7 separate regions of the Homo sapiens genome follow, and regions 2, 3, 4, 5, 6 and 7 are each linked to region 1. The links are contacts of gene promoters, found by promoter capture Hi-C in blood cells and fetal thymus (Javierre and others, 2016). All regions are on one chromosome and are shown on one strand. Each heading gives the region's core, a stretch centred on a gene start or on the middle of the fragment in contact. The rest is flanking DNA. Distances are from core to core; before and after follow the strand shown. Region 1 holds the start of UQCRB (ubiquinol-cytochrome c reductase binding protein). Region 2 holds the start of DPY19L4 (dpy-19 like 4). Region 3 overlaps MTDH (metadherin). Region 4 holds the start of VIRMA (vir like m6A methyltransferase associated). Region 5 holds the start of RPL30 (ribosomal protein L30). Region 6 overlaps MTDH (metadherin). Region 7 holds the start of RAD54B (RAD54 homolog B).

Region 1 (2,700 bases), core at 80-2,579:
CCCAGGAGGCAGAGGTTGCAGTGAGCCGAGATTGTGCCATTCAGCCTGGGTGACAGAGGCTGAACAACAAAAAAAAGGGTGAAAAAAAACAAACAAAAAAAACCCAAAACCTTTTCTGACCTAACCTTCCACTAAAATAGCTAGATATAGATCTTCAGCTGGAGAAACCCAAGGCCTGAAAGGCTTGGTGTCTTTCCTGGATTAGTAGTGTAGCAGTATAGCATATGACCCTAGAATTAAGGAGCCCCAAATTTGCATCTGGATTTTCAGATTCTGGAAGAAGAACCTGGACTCTTCTAGTCATGTGCTCTTGGACAAGTTATTCAACCTTTCTGAGCCTCAGCTTTCTCCTCTCTACAATGAGATAATTACAGTACTTTTAGAATTAAAAGATAGTTTAGGGGAGTGAGAGATCACCTCCAACCCTCCCTCCCCTTTGCTCTTATGTGGGCTCTTTGGTTGAATCTAGGAACCAAATTGACACATGGCAGATTAACAAGAGAAAAGCATACTAATTTTACTAGTTTTACATGTACATGGGGATCCGCACAAAAGAGTGAAGTGGCCAATGTAAGATGCCTTTATACTTTTTACACGAACTACAAATCAGAAGAAAGGGGATCTGGCTAGGGGCAGTAAATTTCTCGCGGAGTCATTAGGAGAAAAGTGTGTGTGTTGGGGTGTAAACTTAGTGGAAGATAACGGTTACTTCGGAAAGTATATTCAGGTCCAAAGCAGCCCCCAGTTTCGTCTCTGGTGATAGGTGCTATTTTCTCCCTCTGGTAAGGGACGGGTACTCCAGAGGAATCCTGGAGGAAGCTTTATGGCTTGCTGCATGCAGGAAGAGATAGGTCATCAAACCTTTTCTGAAACTACAATTTCTCCAATATTTTCAACTCGAAATAATCAATGTACCAATTCCATATATTTTTGGGATGGCACATCCATCAGTCCTTCAATAGAAAGTAAGACGATGCCCTTAAAACATTTAGCTTCCTGCCTGGCACAAAGAGCTGAATTAATACTGTCCACGCTCCCATAGCTATTAACAGCAAATAACAGAACCCAGCTTTAAGCCTTGGTCTCCTAATTCCTGACCTGTGTTCTTCCCATCACATCACAACCAATACTTCTTAGAATGTAGCACGCAAAATGCCCCGCCTACTCCATTGGCCTCACCCTGGCCGAGAGGTGCTTACGCAGGTGCTGAACGGCAGTCGTCAGAACTGCGCCTGCGCAAGCGGCCTTTCTCTGTTCGCGATGTGACGTAACGCGCCTGCGGACTGGGCCCAGCTTGTCCTCTATGACTTACCCAGAAGGCAACGCTTCTCTTTCTGGTCAAAATGGCTGGTAAGCAGGCCGGTAAGTAACTGGGGGTCTTCTTGGCCGGCATCGTCGCGCTTCACCGTTTATTTTTGCTGCAGCTTGCTCCGTTTTCTCTCTTCTTTGTAAGTGGCCAAGTTTGTCGCGGAAGGGAAATTGGCTGCTTCAGTCCAGTGAAAAGGATGTGCTTCCCCACTCGTTTGCTGTCCCCAGGGCGGGCTTGCCTGTATAGGGTTGGGATGTTAACCCGCTGTTTGTGAAGGTGCCCGCGGTGGCTCTGACAGCCCTGGAGTTCCAGCTGCCCGTGCTTGGAAGTCCTTCCCCTTGGCCTTAGAAAAGTTAAAGGGCACAAGAGGATAACTAGTGGATGACTTTCAACCCGAATGAGCTCAGTGCTTTCTATGACCCAAGTGCTCTATCGTGTGCATTGGCCCTATAAATTTTCTTGCCATTGCGACGAGGGAGATATTAATTTCCCTTTTACGCTGATAAGATAACTGAGGCAAAGTGACCCAAGGAAGTAGAATTGGAAATATCATTGCACCCCTCGCGCTTCTCAAACTGCGAATCAGAGACAGTTGAGCAAGGGATACGAGCGACGCTTCAGGTTGACCTTGGATTATCTAGAGCGTCAGCTTGATCAGTAGGTTTGGAGAAATTTGAATTTATTGTAGGTTCTTTTTTTCTTTTTTCTTTCTTTTTTTTTTTTTTTGCTAATCTCTGCCCTCTGGCGGTACAAGTTGGAGTAGCCGTTTTGTTTGTTTGTTTGTTTTGTCTTTGAGACGGAGTCTTGCTTTGTCGCCCAGGCTGGAGTGCAATGGCACAATCTCGTCTCACTGCAATGCAACCAAGTTGGAGTAGCTTAAAAAATGTTGATCCTTTTCTCCCCGCCCCCAGCAATTGTGAAGCTGTTAGGAAACATCAGGTTGCCAGAAACATCCGTTAACCTAATTGACATTGAGCTTTTTGGGGGTGGGGGAGACTTTTTAAATAATTATTTTATTAATTTGGCAGATATTGAAGGAGTCTTACTAAATTCAAGACACTGCTTCTGTGCGTGTTTGGGAACTACATAGACCAGATCTCAACTCCCATTAGCTAACTCTGACCTTGGGTGGGATCACTTCTGTAAGCCAGCTTCCCCTTCTGTAGTAACAGACATGTAAATAAATCAGCTAATGTTGGTAAAGCAAATAGGAAAGTGTTTGGTGCACAATAAGTGCTTAGTGAATATTATTATAGTCACTGATAGGTGGTTGAATATAATCTGTCTTCCACAAGTATGTTTGTAGATTGTTGACTGATACTTGTTTTTCTAGCAGCAGTTTTATACATGACTCTTAATTTCCAAGGAGATTTGCTAAAGCCACGTAATCT
Region 2 (2,862 bases), core at 72-2,571, 1.5 Mb after region 1:
TAATCCCAGCACTCTGGGAGGCCGAGGTGGGCGGATCACCTGAGGTCAGAAGTTCAAGACCAGCCTGACCAACATGGAGAAACCCCGTCTCTACTCAAAATATAACATTAACCGGGCGTGATGGCGCATGCCTGTAATCCCAGCTACTAGGGAGGCTGAGGCAGGAGAATCGCTTGAATCCAGGAAGCGGAGGTTGCGGTGAACCGAGATCGCGCCTTTGCACTCTAGACTGGGCAACAAGAACGAAACTCCGTTTCAAAAAAAAAAAAGGCAGGGGGGCTTGAGTCTAAATTAGATCGATTTACTATCACATCCACAGCTCCACTCATAAGGTAAAAAGTTGTGTTTTCCACCAGAATGCAAAAATCTAATTGCTTCTCACTTCCTGAAACTAGTAGGGGTTATCATGAAGTTACTATGCCATGAGTATTCCTTGTATTGTTTATCACTAACCGATAAGTTTCATCTAACTTCCCATTTTTGTCTCATACTTATCATTTTCTATAAATAAAATACTGCTGAATGAATTACTTATCTTAGCATTGATCCTGAAGGCGGCATGGAAACCTTTCTCCAGCTCACCCACTTTGACCCTCAAAGGCCTCCTGGCCTCATCATCTCCCAAAACTATAATAATTAGATGGCTCTGCTCTTTACCATTTTCCCCTGAACCTAAGTGAACTTGGCTTTCTTCAGTTTCTGCGTGTTCGCCCATTCCCAATTAATCTTGCCACGTTTATCCCAAATCCCTGCCTCTTTATCCCCGTGGTGAATGTTCCCTCGCCCCCTGTGCCTCTGGGTTTGTCAATATCCACAGCCCTTTAAAAATCGCATTCCAAATATGCACTGAGTACCTAAACCTGATCTTCGAAACCAAACTGCGCCTCCCACTTCACCAAGAATCTGATCAGGACCCTCCCTCTTTCCCAACCACTCCCGGCACAGCTTTCTCTCTTGCTACGGATTCCCAACTTTCAGCTCCACCTTTGCTTCCCAATTCGGCCGACAAAACTTCGGGCCATTTGCTCCGCTCTCCTGAATTTCTCCGCAGTCCTCTCCTGGGCGCCGCGCTCCTTCCCGCCCTGCCCGCGCGGCCGCCACCGCGACCGCGGCCACCAGCAGCTCCAACCCAGACCTCCAGCGCCCCCGCCCCTCCTTCCCGAGACCACTGGCAGCCGTTGGCGCGCTGGACCCCGCGGCAATCACCTTCTTCCTCCGCCATCGTTTCTGCGAAGGCTAGGGCGCCCTGCGGCTCCCGCGCGGCCCAGACTCTCCCTCCCTCCGCGTCGCCGAACCCCTCGGCCTCCGGGGGCCCGCTCCTGGCCGCCGCGCCCCCACTTCCTGACCCACCCCCCTCCGGTGTCGCCGCCAACCGCGTCCCCGCAGGCGGCCCGGGAACCAGAGTGTTGGGAGAGGGGAGCGGCCGGAGCGTTTCGCTGGGGCGCCGGGGCCTGCGCGGGCAGGAAGGAGACTCCACGCCGGGAGTGCAGCCCACAGCTGTAGCTCCTGGCCGCCGCCTGCCCTGGAAAGCGAGACTGGTGGGTCTCGCTGCAGCCCCGCCCCTCGTCCTACTCTTCCCAAAAAGTGAGGGCATGCTTTCCGCCACTTTTGTGACTCCGCGACTTAGCGAGTCAGAGACGATCATCAGCGACACCTCCCAGGTCCAGCCTCCATTCCCGCCCCATTTTACATGGAGGAAACTCAGATCTAATGTGGTGGAAGTCACAAAGCCGGTCAGAGGCAGAAGTGGAACCCGGTGCTCCAGAACTGCCATCGCTGCCTGCGTTCTCGCTGGGATTTCAGAGTGCAGCAGCAAAACGTTCTCAGTTGGCGCTTTGGTTTCGTAGGCCACTTGACCATTACAAGAAAGAAGCTTGTGCTTGGAACTTGTTTTAAATCACCAAAACTGGTTTAGCAAATATGTTGCATTTCATGATATTCTGGGGGGGGGGGCGGGGAGATAATACAATGGTCTGGGGTAGAGCAGTGTGCAATTAGATATTACAGAGCAATAGGGAATAATTTTAATTTGTTAAACTGTGTTTAACTTTCATTATATCTAGCATTCTTCAACAAACACCGGGATCTTTTCCCCAACAGTACTCAGAAGTAAATTTAGTAAATGAAATATACCCATTTTAGATCGGGAGAAACAGGCACGAGAATTCACTGAAGTCATGGGGTAATTATGGACACCCCATTATTAGCAGGCAGCAAGATTCTCCTAATAGCACCTTTAAGTTAGGATATTTGGGGAGAGGCTATCATTTTTCAGTGATGTGCAGAAACGGTTCCAGGAACTTTTTTTTTTTTTTTTTGAGACAGAGTCTCGCTCTGTCGCCCAGGCTGGAATGCAATGACTCGATCTAGGTTCACTGCAACCTCCGCCTCCCAGGTTAAAGCGATTTTCGTGCCTCGGCCTTCCCAGTAGCTGGGACTACAGGCGCAAGCCACCACTTAATTTTCATATTTTTAGTAGAGATGGGATTTCACCATGTTGGTTGGCCAGGCTAGTCTCCAACTCCTGGCCTCAAGTGATCCGCCCACCTTGGCCCCCCGAAGTGCTGGGTTTACAGGTGCCCACCACCACGCCCGGATAATTTTTTGTACTTTTAGTAGAGAAGTGGAGGGGTGTGGTTTCACCATGTTGCCCAGGCTGGTCTTGAAATCCTGACCTCAAGTGATCCACCGGCCTCAGCCCCACAAAGTGCTGGGATTACAGGCATGAGCTACCACGCAGGGCCTCCAGGAACTCTTTTTATGTCTGGTTCCCCGTAAAGATGTTTTTTGCCTTAAAACAACACTTTACCAGGAGTTAGAAACAGTGGACCAGAAAAGGCCTGGTGCCAGAGCCAAGAGAGC
Region 3 (2,700 bases), core at 134-2,633, 1.4 Mb before region 1:
GTACCAAGCACTGTGCAAGGCTATCTGGTAGCAAACAAAAGGAAACACTATTATTTTATTCATTGAGCTTAGAGATATGGCAATTACACTATAGCAAATCTTTATAAACATTCCTACACTAATATGCAAATAACTTGTCCACTAAAATAAATTTTTGAGCTGGGTGAGGTTGCTCATGCCTGTAATCCCAACATTTTGGGAGGCCAAAGTGGGAGGATGGCTTGAGGCCAGGAGTTTGAGGATGCAGTGAGCTATGAGCTATAACCGCCACTGCACTCCAGCATGGGCAATAGAGCAAGACTGTTTCAAAAAAAAAAAAAAGACAATTTTCTTTGATATTAATCCTGATTATGTGCTTCCAGTTGAAATTCAAAGCCAATTGTTACAGACCAGTTTTCGCAGACTTCACTTCAATCTAAGTCATTACTCAGATTAAAAATCAAGTGAAAAAATACTTGAGTGCCCATTTAATACAGACTTTGAGGTAGATGTCATGAAAAATACATACAAGATAATAATTTCCAAAAATGCCAGGAACAGGGGTGGGGGGGAAAAGAAAAAATGCCAAGAACTGAGCCCAGTAAAAAGTGGCCCCCCTCACTTTTAATTAGGGAACAAACTGTAATTCATACCCTAAAAGATCTATGGCATGGTTTTATTAGGGGATAAAAAACAAATTGATAAAATAATTTCAGAAATTGCTTATAAACAGGTTGAGGTAAATACAGATTTCGCCACTATTTACTCTACAAATGAAAAATTTGAAAACAGGAGTCGCAAAATTTGGAGTGATTTAAGAGAAAGCTAAAAATAATGGAACGAAAAGATCAGAGATCAGGAATCTACAAGCTTTTTTTTTTTTTTTCTTTTAGGAGACAGAGTCTTGCTGTGTTGCCCAGGCTGGAGTGCAGTCACCTGATCATAGCTCATCACAGCGTCAAACTCCTAGGCTCAAGTGATCCTCCCAACAGTGCCTCCCAAAGTGCTGGGATTACAGGCATAAGCCACTGTGCCTGGCCCAAGCATTTCCACAAGCATTCAAAGTGACTCATTGCAAGTAGCCAGGGATAACACTTTGAAGAATACTGCAGTGTTTTAACTCAACTAAGATTTCCAATTTGTAAACAAGATACACTGAACAGAGCAAGGTGAAATGCCTTACTCAAGTTTAGAGTTTCCCATTCCTGCCAGGCTGACAGAGTTGTCTTCTTTCAATCCTGGGCCTTTGTTGTTTCTCAGGCCTCTCACATTATCTTGCTCTTACTGCCCTCCCTTCCCCCCTTTTTTTAGACAGGGCCTCGAATTGGCTCACTGCAGCCTCCACCTCCTGGCTCAAGCAATCCTCCAACCTCAGCCTCCAGAATAGCTGGGACTACAGGTGCACACCACCACACTGGGCTAATTTTTTAAATTTTTTGTAGAGATGAGGTCTCACTATATTGCCCAGGTCGTTCTTGAATTCCTGGGGGACTCCTACCCACTTTCAAAGTCAGCTTCTGTGACAAGGCCTTTCACGCCCACCTGGGTCCACATCCAGTTGTATCATTAATTTCTTAAGTATATCTTTTTCCACGACTGAAACAAAAAGCTCCCTGGGGAGAAACTGAGCTTTAACCTTTGTATCCCTGTCACAGAGAGATATGCCCATATTGTATGCCTTTTCACCGCCTTCAATTTGTAAGCAGTATCTTGCTTTTCTTCAATACTTAGCACAGTTAAAGGTATCTAATGAGTACCAAACGGCAGCTTGTACTTCTTTGCCCTGTAAAGCTACCCCATAACTGTGGGTCATGCCTCACAGTCAAATGTGAAATGAATTTAGTGGGTCATGAACATTAAAGAAAAACAGAACAGTTTTATGTGTGTAATGTAATGTAAAATGTATTTCTTATTGTGGGTTGCAGTCAGAAAAGCTTGAAAGTCACAATTTTGTAAATGTTGGTTAAACTTCTCGAATACATCTTCAATATTTGGTAGATAAGGATACTTCCTCACCCAATTAACATTCAGCCATACAGTCTTCCCATTCTCCACTCCTCAAAGCTAACGCTAGGTTTACTTATTTACTCCCCACTTCCTTAACTCGAATGAAAATGAGGGGGTAAGTCTTTTAAGTCTACTGAGCATTTTTCACAGTAATGTATAAGCATTCGCCGGAATCTGTATTCTTTCAGATGAGTCATTTGAGTGTTATAACGCATGTCGGATGGGTTCTTGGAGAACCTGTCTCTCTCAACTCAAGTTTATCTGAAATTTCTAGATGTCCCAAATAGGGCTTTGAAATTTTCACAATGTGCTTCATCCACATGGGTTTGTGCTGAATGTGTTTCTTTCAAGATCACCTTCTTTCCTTACCTTGGAGCAAGGTTCTCTATTTTCACCATAACATTACTTTGATAATTGGTAATTCTTGATAGTCTCCACAAATTTTTAAATTATTTATGTTCCAAATCAGTTCTATTTTCTCCTCTCCTAACTTATGGTAGTATTCACATTGACAAAGTTGTGCCTTTTCCAGGTTTCATATGTATCTTGCATCTCTTAATCAGCAGGCAAAACGTGAAGGCCTATCCAGGCCTCATAATGCACTAACTGTGACCTGTCACATCTCTAATCTAGAGATTAGAGTTTGTTACCAACAAAACTCTTGTTAGTTGGAACTCAAACCCCATTTCCTCCAACAACTTTCCTAAAGCCCTC
Region 4 (2,833 bases), core at 140-2,639, 1.7 Mb after region 1:
CTATCTTGAAATTTTAGTTACTCCAATACATGACTTTATAATTTCATGACATATGTACACTCCTAAAATTTTATATTCTTTTGCACGTTTTTAAATATATAGATGTTATTTTACACTATATATTTTTTATTTCCTTTTCTAAGAGATGGGTGTCCCCACTGGCCTCCAACTCCTGGGCTTAAGAGATTCTCCTGTCTCAGCTTCCCGAGAAGTTGGGACCACAGGAACACGCCACCGCACCCGGCTTGCGATGAGAGGAGTTAAACTTGTTTTGTTTTGGTTTGTGTCTTTTTTTTTTCTTTTTGTGAATAACGGGGTCTCGCTATATTGCCCAGGCAGTTCTCCAACTCCTGGGCTCAAGCGATCCTCCCGCTTCATCCTCCCTAAGTGCTGGATTACAGGCGTGAGCCAAAGCGCCCACCAACCCTGTTTTTTGGGTTTTTCATGCTAGTAAACATAGCACTGGTTCATTCTTCGTACCTGCTATATACTATTATATAAATACGCCACTATTTACTTATTACTTCTGTCAATGGCACTTATGTTTCCTGCTCTTTTGCAACTTATAAAGTTTGCTATGAATATTCTTGTATTTGTAGATACGTGGGCGAGAATTTTCCTAGAAGAGTGGTAGGCACGTGTAATTTTACAAGCTATTTCCTAGTTGCTCTGCTAAGGGTTTGTGCCATTTAGACTACCAAACCCGCTGAGTTTATCTCGTTGCTCCAAAGCTCATCAACACCCGACAGAGAGGCTTACTTTTCATTCTGCCTCCTGTTTTATTGTTCATGGTACTTCACGTTACACAATTCCTCGAATTTTATTTCAATTACTCCTCACAATCACCCTGTAGGTTAGGTACGATTTTTCACATTTTACAGATAAGAAAACAAAGAATCTCTTCGTTGGTTGAAACAACAGTTTTTCTTCTATTTAAATCAATGTCTTACTTTTCAACCTCGCTCACTGTTATCTTTTTGCTCCCAGCGCTGGAAAAAGTGGGACATCCCCTTCGGTGGGTGTACGGGGTTGGTATCCAAAGTTGGCAGCTTTCCCTCCCCCTCCTCCATCCACCGTCTCCAAAACCCCGTCTCCGCACTTCGCCACCCGGAGACCGCTGTAGCTCTGTAACGCGGAGGAACGACAGGGTTTGAACCACTGGAGACCCCGTAGTCCCCATCTCACTTCCCTCTGCCCCCCCTCTGCGTTCTAGGGGGCGCCCTCCGCCGCGCTGGAAAAGGCGGGGCCGGCAACTCCGGGCAACAAGATGCGTTGGGATAGGCCGAGGTTTGCGGCGCTAGTGCTCTGGTCACCGGAAGTCCCTCTGTTTCTCCCTCTCCTGAGTCGCTGTCGCGGAGGCTGGAGCGCTGCCCCGGAAGTCCTCCCCCCTGTTCCCCGCCCGCGGCAAACATGGCGGTGGACTCGGCGATGGAGCTGTTATTTTTAGATACTTTTAAACACCCGAGCGCTGAGGTAAGGCTTGGCGACTTGATTCTGACGCTGCTTCTTGACTTGGGATCTTTACAAAAAAACCGTTAGGCGTTCTCCACTTTTCCTTCTGCAGATTGCTTCTTTAATTTCTCGCTTACACACAGACACCCTCCCCCGAGCTGTGTGAGCATCGCGTCTGAGGGAGGGCTGCAGCAGCCCCTTCATTTCCTTGCTTTAACTTGGGCCCTCCGTGTCTTTGGTCGAGTTGGCTTTTCTGCTTGCATGGCTTTATTTTTTATTTTTCCTGTCAGGTTTGGGCCTTGAGAAGGATCAGGGTTCTCAGGTTTACCTCAGATGGCGTTTGGGAGGGGTCTTGGTTTGCCAGTAGTGTTTGACAGTAGTGCCGGAGTCTGAGCAGTTTACGTTGGCTTCGTGGTTTCCGAATCACGATGTTTCTAAATCCTTTCTCTTTGGCCTCTTTTCTGTCGGGAATTATGTTCCCCAGTTGTGACACTTACTTGGTTTAGGATTACGGTGCTCTCCGATTTGGCCTGAAACTTTAATACTTGTCTCTCGGAGAGATTTCACACATTAGGAATGAGATGCATTCACGGAGAATACTTGCGAAGAGGGGAGAGTTGAGAGAATTATAGTTAAACTCATCAGCAGACATCTCCTTTGAGGTTGGAGGTGGAATGTTGTGGAGTAATATTTCTGTACAAAACTACTTGAGCGCCCCTTAATGTACAATTGGCCCTGCAATATGTAGATTAAACATAGCTGGTTAACTAAAGATTCCTGAAAGCAGACCAAAAATGAACTTGAATGAAGTCTACGGAGAAATTGTTAAAAAAAAAAACGAACTTCACATTTTTCTGTCTTAATGTAAGCTTAATTTAGAGAACTGTTCTTTCTTTGGAGATTATTTTTTTCCTTTTATTTTTATCAAGTGTGCTCTTGTATCAAGCTTTTTGAGGACAGATATAATTTCTCTTTTTCTCAGCTGTATCTCCAGTGCCTAGGACAGTATTAGCAAAATGTAGGTGCTCAATAAATATTTGAATGGAAAATGTTTAAAATGTTCTTTCTTTTATGAGATAGTAATGATAGTGGGTAGTGATTGTATCATAATGCTTTACTTGGCAAAATAAAAAGTTGACAGCTGTGATCTAATTTAACGAATGGTTTATAGGTTTGTAAAAGTCAAAAGTTGGAGAACTTTGAGTTAGCATTTCTTACTGACAGTTAATTTATGGTCTGACATTTAATGTGGGTCAGTTAGCACTGTTTGTTCAATGACTATATCTAACATTCTAGCCGAGATTTAGAAAACCCTCAATGGAGGCAGTAGTTGGATCAGAACAAACTTATGGTGTATAGAAATAGAGAACAGTTAAAACTG
Region 5 (2,868 bases), core at 254-2,753, 1.8 Mb before region 1:
CCAGGCTGGAGTGCAGTGGCCCGATCTCAGCTCACTGCTACCTTTGCCTCCCAGGTTCAAGCGATTCTCCTGCTTCAGCCTCCCAAGTAGTTGGGATTGCAGGCAGGAGCCACCACACCTGGCTACTTTTTGTATTTTTAGTAGAGGTGGGGTTTCACCATGTTGACCAGACTGGTCTCGAACTCCTGACTTCAGGTGATCCGCTCACCTCGGACTTCCAAAATGTTTGGATTACAGGCGTGAGTCACCGCATTCGGCCTGAATCAACTTTAATTGTGAAGAGACCTAAGTTACCTGGGCTCTGGTCCTAGCTCTGACAATAGGCCTAGATATGTAAAATGGACAATAAAAAGGTTACTATCTCATGGGACTTTTGTGAGTATTAAATAAATATATGTAAATGATTCCTGGTACAGCACGCGTTTTTTGGTGAGGCTTAATTAAGGAGGGGAAGAGGTTTCCCTCATATAGCTTATCCACTGGTCTGATTGATTAGGTGGGGATTTTCAGCGCCTAATATCTTCAGTGGTCTGTCTCTGGACATTTATACCAAGATCCAACGTTAACAGCAAAAATACTTTTAAAAAATTAGACCTGTTTATCGCGCTCTCAGTGCAAACTCGGCTCACAAGTTCACGCTAACACAGTCACAAAAGGCGAGTTTTGGGAAACTCGAGCAGGGCGCCACCGTTCTCCAGGGGACAGGTAACTTGGGTGACCGCAGGGGTGAGGACACAGCTGCTTCTACCAAGCGGAGAGTAAATGCGGGTGCTGCGGCGCATCGGAGTCACCCACAAGGCTCTCCAAGAGCCGCGCCTCAGGACAAAGATGAATTCAGCGGCATTGAGACCGTGGTCGCAGCCGCCGCAGCCTCTTCTCATCTACCCTCCCACCTCACCTTCAGTCGGCTTTTCGAACTCCCTCCGGGTTCTAAGCGCCTCGATTAGTTAGACCGCAGCTCGCAGCAGAACAGCAACACAACGCCGCGAAGCTTAAAGGCCCGCAGAGGGGGAAAAGAACACCCCCGCCGTCATTCTTTTTTTTCCTTCTTTGAGACAGAGTCTCACTCTGTCGCCCAGGCTGAGTGCAGTGGCGCGATCATGGCTCACTGCAGCCTCGACCTACCGAGCTCAAGCGACCTCTCCGCCTCAGCCTCCGGCGTAGCTGGGAGTAGCTAGGACTACTGGAGCGCGCCACCACGCCCGGCTAATTTCTTTTTTATTTCTTTTTTATTTTTTTGTAGAGACAGGGGTGGTCTATGTTGTCCAGGCTGGCCTTGAGCTGGACGCAACAGATCTTCCCGCCTCAACCTCCGAAAGTGCTGGGATTAAAGGTATGAGCAGCCGCGTACGGCCCCCGCAGCCATTCTAGCTAGCGGTACCAATAGCAACCGGCAGCTGCCCTCCGCTTTTGCTCCGCCCCTTCTGCTTGCGATCTGTTTCCGCTTCCGGTCCCGCAGTTCCGGCTCTGCCGTGAAGAGCTTTGCATTGTGGGAAGTCTTTCCTTTCTCGTTCCCCGGCCATCTTAGCGGCTGCTGTTGGTGAGTGGGCTCCTACCGACCGAGGTTTAGGCAGCGCGGGGAGCTTTGCGGGTTGCCATTTGTAACTCCGGATCCTAAAATTCCTGTCCTGTTCTCTGTCTCTTCTAGGTTGGGGGCCGTCCCGCTCCTAAGGCAGGAAGATGGTGGCCGCAAAGAAGACGGTGAGTGAGGCGGGCCAGGCCCGGAAGACGATTCACGTGGAGAGATGTCTTGGCCAGGGCGGGCAGATGTGAGCCCACGGGGGTGACAGCATGCCTGCTGGCATTTGGAGGGCCCCAGAAGGAATCCCAGTGGCCCTCTCAATGACTTGGGGTCCTCGACTTCGGAAGTTTAAGGGGCTCGGCTTCAAAAAGCTGGGTCCGGTTTTGAGGCGGTTGCAGGCGAGGCCCTTAGGTCCGTATTTAATGTTTGCTTTGTAGAAAAAGTCGCTGGAGTCGATCAACTCTAGGCTCCAACTCGTTATGAAAAGTGGGAAGTACGTCCTGGGGTACAAGCAGACTCTGAAGATGATCAGACAAGGCAAAGCGAAATTGGTCATTCTCGCTAACAACTGCCCAGCTTTGAGGTAATCGAAGAGACTGAACGGGCTTCGCCTACCGCGAATTCATCGTGAACGAATATACAGGAGTGTAAACTTGTAATCTGAGTACCATGAACTCGAACACTTGCAGGATAATTACGGTAGCGATTGTGGTGTTTGGCCCTTCATTCCCGTCTCCCCGACCCACCCCCAAATCGTGTGCTCCCCTTCTGTGAGCTTATTTTTGGAGGAGAAATGTGTGTGTGTGGCAGGAGTGAAAACAGAACATCGAGGTTTAATGGAAACACAGACACATTACTGTTTTTTCCATGTATTTTGTGTCCTGCTTTTTTGGTTCTTTTAGCTTTGAGGTGCTTTAATGATGCTTCATTGTGTGAACTTGTTTTAGTGTCAAAAAACTAGGTAAGAAAAGTTGAGGCTGGGCTATGGAGTTGCAGGCTATCATAGAATCACCTAGTTTAGCCCGCTAAATCAGTTCTGAGTCAAGATTTATGCTTGACTCACTGTTTTGAAATTGAACTTAGGGGGTGTTGTAAATAAGCCAAACAAACTTGGACCTTGCAGAGTATAAGCTATGTGAGCAAATTTTCTGTGGTGATGCATAAGCTGCTTACAGCATTTTATATAGGGTGTCTGTAGTTACCGTCAAAGCCTGGAGGGCCCTTTCTGTCTTGTCCCATGGGTTCGGCTTTTCCCTAACCATTCTTTGAAACTTTCTTTAAAGCCTGTCTTCTATAGTAGTGCTTCTGAAACATGACTGTGCAAAGGAGTCACATGGGTGATGTTA
Region 6 (2,700 bases), core at 92-2,591, 1.5 Mb before region 1:
TGTGAACAACTTCTGTGTCTATCCAATCAATTTTTCTATAAATTTATTTGTATCCACATATAAAAAGTTACATAAATGACATATTCTATCTTTTTATAACTTGCTCATCATTCAGCATGTTGAGTTTCCATTCATAATGCTAACAATGTAGCTTTAGTTCATTTTTAACTTCTAATATGCCATTGTATAAACATATCACATCTTTCCATTCCCCAACTGATGAACATTTTGATGACAGCTCACTTTTGCTTAGAAATGTAAAAGGTAATCTCTGAATATATTCAGAAAAAGAATTCCTATGATGTAGGATAAAGTCTTTATTCCATTCATGGGTTCTATTGTGTTAAATGTCCAACAAACATGTGAATGATCACTATGTATTAAGGTATTATATATTACGATATTGTACTTCTAAGAAGCCTTTTTGTAGGTCCAATCTAAAACCCCTTTCCCCACTGTTGACTTTCACATTGCCTGTTAACTGTCCTCCTCTACATTTATTTACCCCTCCTTCTACCATTAGTATTATATCTGGTGGTTTTTTTTTTTTTTTTGAGATGGAGTCTCGCTATGTTGTCCAGGCTGGAGTGCAGTGGCACAACCTTGGCTCACTGTAACCTCTGCCTCCCGGGTTCAAGCAATTCTTTGCCTCAGTCAGCCTCATGAGTAGATGGGATTACAGGTGCCCGCCACCATGCCCAGCTAATGTTTGTATTTTCAGCAGAGACGGGGTTTCACCATCTTGGCCCGGCTGGTCTTGAACTCCTGACCTTGTGATCTACCCACCTTGGCCTCGCAAAGTGGGAGCCACTGTGCCCGGCCTATATCCTGTTTTAAAGACCAATCCTGGCTGGGGGCAGTGGCTCACGCCTGTAATCCCAGCACTCTGGGGGGCCAAGGTGGGCAGATCACTTGAGGTCAGGAGTTTGAGACCAGCCTGGCTAACATGGCAAAAACTCGTCTGTACTAAAAACACAAAAATTAGCTGGGCATGGTGATGCATGCCTGTAATCCCAGCTACTCAGGAGGCTGAGGAGGGAGAATCACTTGAACCTGGGAGGTGGAGGTTGCAGAGAGCCGAGATCATGCCACTGCACTCCAGCCTGGGAGACGGGGAAACTCCATCTCAAAAAAAAAAAAAAAAAAAAAAAAAAAAAAAAAAAAAAGGCCTGGCATGGTGGCTCATGCCTGTAATCCCAGCACTTTGGGAGGCCGAGGTGGGTGGATCACTTGAGCTCAGGAGTTTGAGACCAGCCTGGCTAACATGGCAAAAACCCGTCTCTACTAAAAATACAAAAATTAGCTGGGCATGGTGATGCGTGCCTGTAATCCCAGCTACTCAGGAGGCTGAGGAGGGAGAATCACTTGAACCTGGGAGGGGGAGGTTGCAGAGAGCTGAGATCGTGCCACTGCACTCCAGTCTGGGAGACAGGGCGAAACTCCATCTCAAAAAAAAAAAAAAAAAAAAAAAAAAAAAAAAAAAGGCCTGGCATGGTGGCTCATGCCTGTAATCCCAGCACTTTGGGAGGCTGAGGCAGGTGGATCACTTGAGGTCAGGAGTTCGAAACCAGCCTGACCAACATGGTGAAACCAACATGGTAAAAGTACAAAAATTAGCCGGGCATGGTGGCAGGTGCCTGTAATCCCAGCTACTGGGAGGCTGAGGCACGAGAATTGCTTGAACTCAGGAGGCAGAGATTGCAGTGAGCTGAGATTGCATCACTGAACTCCAGCCTGAGTGACAGAGCAAAACTCCATCTCAAAAAGAAAAAGAAAAAAAAAAAAGACCAATCCATCCACTTGTTAAAGGCTTCTTGATCCTCTTCTGGCACCTTACTTTATCAGTCAAATCTTCCCTCTCATTTAACTTTTTCTTTTTTTTTTTCTTTTTTAAGAGATGGGGTCTTGCTATGTTCAAACAATCCTCCTGCCTCAGCCCCCTGAATAGCTGGGACTACCAGGTGTATGCCACTGTGCCCAGCCTATGTTTAACTTTTTAGTTTATTCCGGATCCTTTCCCTTTGTATTGACAGACATGCTAAAACAGGGGTTGGCAAATTACAAATACAGCCCAGCATTAGTTCCTACAAATAAAATTCATTTCCATATCATCTATGGCTACTTGCTATATAATTGACTAGCTGTATCAGAATGTATGGCTTTTTAATAAAGACTGTGCAGGCCAGACACAGTGGCTTACACATGTAATCCCAGCACTTTGAGAGGCTGAGGCAGGAGGGTCACTTGAGGCCAGGAGTTTGAGGACACCATCTCAAAAAAAAAAAAAAAAAAAAAAAAGGCCAGGCATGGTGGCTTACGCCTGTAATCCCAGCACTTTGGGGGGCTGAGGTGAGCGGATCACCTGAGGTCTGGAGTTGGAGACCAGCTTTGCCAACATGGTGAAATCCCATCTCTACTAAATACACAAAAATTAGCCGGGCATAGTGTCGGGCTAGTAATCCCAGCTACTCAGGAGTCTGAGGTAGGAAAACTGCTTGAACACAGGAGGTAGAGGTTGCAGTGAGCTGAGATCATGCCACTGCACTCCAGCCTGGGCAGCACAACAAGAATCTGTCTCCGAAAAAAAAAAAAAAAGAAAAAAAGACTGCTGACCCTATACCAAAATCTCCCTATCATTAAAATACAACACCCCAACCCTAGCAAAACCATTCCTGATACCACGTGTTGCTATTATCCACT
Region 7 (2,700 bases), core at 134-2,633, 1.8 Mb after region 1:
GTTGATATGTGAGTAATGATCTGAAGTGAAGGATCAAACCAGATGCAAATCTGCAAGAGGAATGTCCCAGGTCACCTTTAGCCAATCTGTTTTAGATTTTCTGAACTCCCCAGATGATATTAAGGTAGGCTGCAGACACTATGAAGCTAGCTTGTTTTCTGGTTACCCTTACTCTTTATGTGTCCCAGTCCAAAGAAGAGGGGGGTGCGGTTTACTAAGGTGCCCAACCTTGGCAGGTCCCCATTTCAAATTCTTGTAACGCTGGCTCCAGGAGCTGCCAAAAGCACAACTCAACCTATGAGGTGCTCTTTATGACTGGAAAAAGTCCCCAGGATAAAAGCTCCTTAAGCACATTACTCTTTTTTTTTGAAACAGGGTCTCTCTGCTGCCCAGGCTGGAGTGCTGCGGCACCATCTCGGTTCATTGCAGCCTTCACCTCCCAGGTTCAAGCGATTCTCCCGCCTTAGTCTGCTGAGTAGCTGGGATTACAGGCGCGCTCCACCAAAACCAGCTAATTTTTGTATTTTTAGTACAGACCGGGTTTCACCATGTTGGCCAGGCTGGTCTCGAACTCCTGACCTCAAGTGATCCGCCCGCCTCGGCCTCCCAAAGTACTGGGATTACAGGCACAAGCCACCGCTCTCAGCCTCAAATTACTCTTTTAAATGGCTGTACCTATTTACACTCCTACCAGCAGCCCAAGAGTTCCCATTGTTTCACATCTTCATTTCACCCTTGATATTTTTTAGCTTTTACTTTTTGTCAAACTGCTGGATAAAACTCAATAAACAACCTTTAGCCATTCTCTCTCCTTTCAGATTAGCCTTTCTAATACCATTTTTCAGGGATAGTTGACTGTGTTACCGCCTAGCACTTAGAAGGTGCTCAGTAAATACTCATTGAATGATGTAACTTTCCTACTTAACATGCTTTAATGCTTTTCCAAGTCCGGAGGCGGCTCCCCTTTTCTGAGAGCCTAATAATCACGTATTCGTTTCTATATTCCCAGAACCTAACAAAGAGTTTGAAAATTATCCTGCAGGCACCGCTAAGTCAATGTTTTTTCGGATGAATGAATAACCAATAGGATATCGTATACTTCTGCGATGCACGCATTTCTATTATCGCACACACCGAATCATACCGTATTTATTACTTATCCACGCAGATGGTGAGGTCTGTAGCCTCGGCATCTACACTGTGTCTGAAAGTAGGCACTAAACCAGTATTTTTTTAATTGAACCGTAAACTTGAATCAAACTTGGAAGCATTTAAAGCCAAACGCAAAGATACATGCGCAGTGATGCAGTAGGGTCGTCCAATCAGAGTAGGGCAGGACAGGGCAGTGCAGCGGCTAGGTAGTGCGCACGCGCGGCGGGCTCGTCCGCGATTGGCTTCGCCGAGGCGGGATCCTTGAGCTTCTCCGGCGGCGAGGGGATAGCTGGTTACCAGAAGGACTTCTTTGCAGGGCCAGTGGTTTCTGTCAGATTTTCGCCGGTGCGTCCTGCAGGGGGAAGCTCGGGAGGCTGCGACAGCCTGTAGGCTCGTGCGGGACAAAGCAGGGAGTGGCGCCGGAGCAGGCCAACGAGGGAGGAGGGAGGGAAGGCGGCAGGAGCGACCGAAGTGGCCTTCTGCGGGCCTGCAGCTTTGGTCTGAAGTGCCAGGGACGCCCTGGTTGCTGGCCCCGGGGGCCTTGGAGCGAAGGGCGGGCGGTGGGGGTTTAGGGTTGTGCGTTTGTGTGGGAGGGATGGTTCTGGGCAGTGGCCCCTGGGGCCGCCACTGCGGTCGCTTTGCGCAGGCTCCTCTTGGCTTTTGGGTCTCTCCCTCACTCCTGCACTGGGAATTTCCTTCCCCAGGGCCAGGGGGTGAAGGCTCTGCGAGCGTCCTGGAGAGTGTCGGTACGCCTTCTTTAGGGGCTTTTACCTCTTCACTGGTCAGGTTTTTCTTGTATTTCCTTAAAACCTTTTAATCGATTACCTTATGGAAGATTTTCTAGGTAGGAACAGATGCTTCTCGACTTACTACGGGGTTGAAAATATCCCAAATGGAAAATGGATTTAAAACACAGCTAACCTACTGAGTATTAAAGCTTGGCCTAGCCTACTTTTGTTATCAAAAAAATTATTTTCAGCTGTTTATTTTAGATTTGGGGGTACATGTGCAGGTTTGTTGCATCGGTATATTACGTGGTGCTGAGGTTTGGATACGATTGATCCTGTCACCCAGGTAGTGAGCATGTTACCCAATAGTTTTTGAACCCTTGCTCCTCCTTTCCTCTCCCTTCTAGTTGTCTCCACTGTCTATTGTTGCCATCTTTATGTTCATGAATGCCCAATGTTTAGCTCCCATTTATAAGTGAGAACATGCAATATTTGATTTTCTGTTTCTGCTTTAATTCGCTTTGGATAATAGCCTCCAGCTGCACCCATGTTGCTGCAAAGGACATGATTTCATTCCTTTTTATGGCTGCGCTAGCCTACCTTAAACATGCTCAGAACACTTACCTTAATCTACAGTTGGGCAAAATCATGAACACAGACGGTTGTGTGGTTACTTGTACAGTTTCTACTGAATGCTCATGGCTTTCTTAAAAGTCGAAGAATTCTAAGTGACACCGTCCTAAATTAGGAACCATCTATATAGCCGGAGTCTCAAAGGAGCAATTTAAGGCATGAAGTGAAATAATTACTACCTAATGTA

The links. The method cuts DNA at HindIII sites, captures the fragments that hold promoters and counts their contacts. A CHiCAGO score of 5 or more calls a contact.
Region 2: a contact is called between the fragment with the promoter of DPY19L4 here and the fragment with the promoter of UQCRB in region 1, in 2 of 17 cell types (total B cells and fetal thymus). The highest score is 6.1, in total B cells.
Region 3: a contact is called between a fragment that was not itself captured here and the fragment with the promoter of UQCRB in region 1, in 1 of 17 cell types (total CD8 T cells). The highest score is 6.1, in total CD8 T cells.
Region 4: a contact is called between the fragment with the promoter of VIRMA here and the fragment with the promoter of UQCRB in region 1, in 7 of 17 cell types (fetal thymus, naive B cells, total CD8 T cells and 4 more). The highest score is 12.9, in fetal thymus.
Region 5: a contact is called between the fragment with the promoter of RPL30 here and the fragment with the promoter of UQCRB in region 1, in 2 of 17 cell types (naive B cells and total B cells). The highest score is 7.8, in naive B cells.
Region 6: a contact is called between a fragment that was not itself captured here and the fragment with the promoter of UQCRB in region 1, in 1 of 17 cell types (M0 macrophages). The highest score is 6.2, in M0 macrophages.
Region 7: the fragment with the promoter of RAD54B here is called in contact with the fragment with the promoter of UQCRB in region 1 in 7 of 17 cell types (naive B cells, fetal thymus, total B cells and 4 more); the score reaches 11.2 in naive B cells.

Annotation. Positions count from the first base shown.
Region 1 is chr8:96,234,174-96,236,873 of GRCh38, reverse strand. UQCRB (ubiquinol-cytochrome c reductase binding protein) reads left to right here and starts at 1,329. Exons shown (of 4, transcript NM_006294.5): 1 at 1,329-1,362. The coding sequence starts at 1,344. UQCRB-AS1 (UQCRB antisense RNA 1) reads right to left here and starts at 1,581. Exons shown (of 2, transcript NR_183275.1): 1 at 1,313-1,581. RefSeq lists an enhancer at 1,323-1,602. The HindIII fragment of the contact is 3,599 bases long and covers 822-2,700 here.
Region 2 is chr8:94,718,359-94,721,220 of GRCh38, reverse strand. It overlaps DPY19L4 (dpy-19 like 4), which reads right to left and starts at 1,321. Exons shown (of 19, transcript NM_181787.3): 1 at 1,207-1,321. The coding sequence starts at 1,222. RefSeq lists a silencer at 1,194-1,513 and an enhancer at 1,274-2,228. The HindIII fragment of the contact is 11,065 bases long and covers 1-1,875 here.
Region 3 is chr8:97,646,116-97,648,815 of GRCh38, reverse strand. All of the region lies in intron 1 of MTDH (metadherin), which reads right to left. Among named protein-coding and RNA genes, the nearest start is that of MTDH, 3.3 kb to the right of the region's middle. The HindIII fragment of the contact is 1,064 bases long and covers 852-1,915 here.
Region 4 is chr8:94,552,025-94,554,857 of GRCh38, reverse strand. It overlaps VIRMA (vir like m6A methyltransferase associated), which reads left to right and starts at 1,389. Exons shown (of 24, transcript NM_015496.5): 1 at 1,389-1,473. The coding sequence starts at 1,411. It overlaps VIRMA-DT (VIRMA divergent transcript), which reads right to left and starts at 1,145. Exons shown (of 2, transcript NR_183271.1): 1 at 951-1,145. RefSeq lists an enhancer at 1,076-1,695. The HindIII fragment of the contact is 4,366 bases long and covers 1-2,323 here.
Region 5 is chr8:98,044,180-98,047,047 of GRCh38, reverse strand. It overlaps RPL30 (ribosomal protein L30), which reads left to right and starts at 1,503. Exons shown (of 5, transcript NM_000989.4): 1 at 1,503-1,540; 2 at 1,649-1,701; 3 at 1,960-2,105. The coding sequence starts at 1,681. RefSeq lists enhancers at 1,122-1,171, 1,192-1,251, 419-1,355, 1,422-1,571. The HindIII fragment of the contact is 12,210 bases long and covers 994-2,868 here.
Region 6 is chr8:97,707,048-97,709,747 of GRCh38, reverse strand. All of the region lies in intron 8 of MTDH (metadherin), which reads right to left. Among named protein-coding and RNA genes, the nearest start is that of MTDH, 64 kb to the right of the region's middle. The HindIII fragment of the contact is 8,340 bases long and covers 1-2,700 here.
Region 7 is chr8:94,473,798-94,476,497 of GRCh38, reverse strand. RAD54B (RAD54 homolog B) reads left to right here and starts at 1,383. Exons shown (of 15, transcript NM_012415.3): 1 at 1,383-1,497. RefSeq lists an enhancer at 1,421-1,650. The HindIII fragment of the contact is 4,488 bases long and covers 1-2,091 here.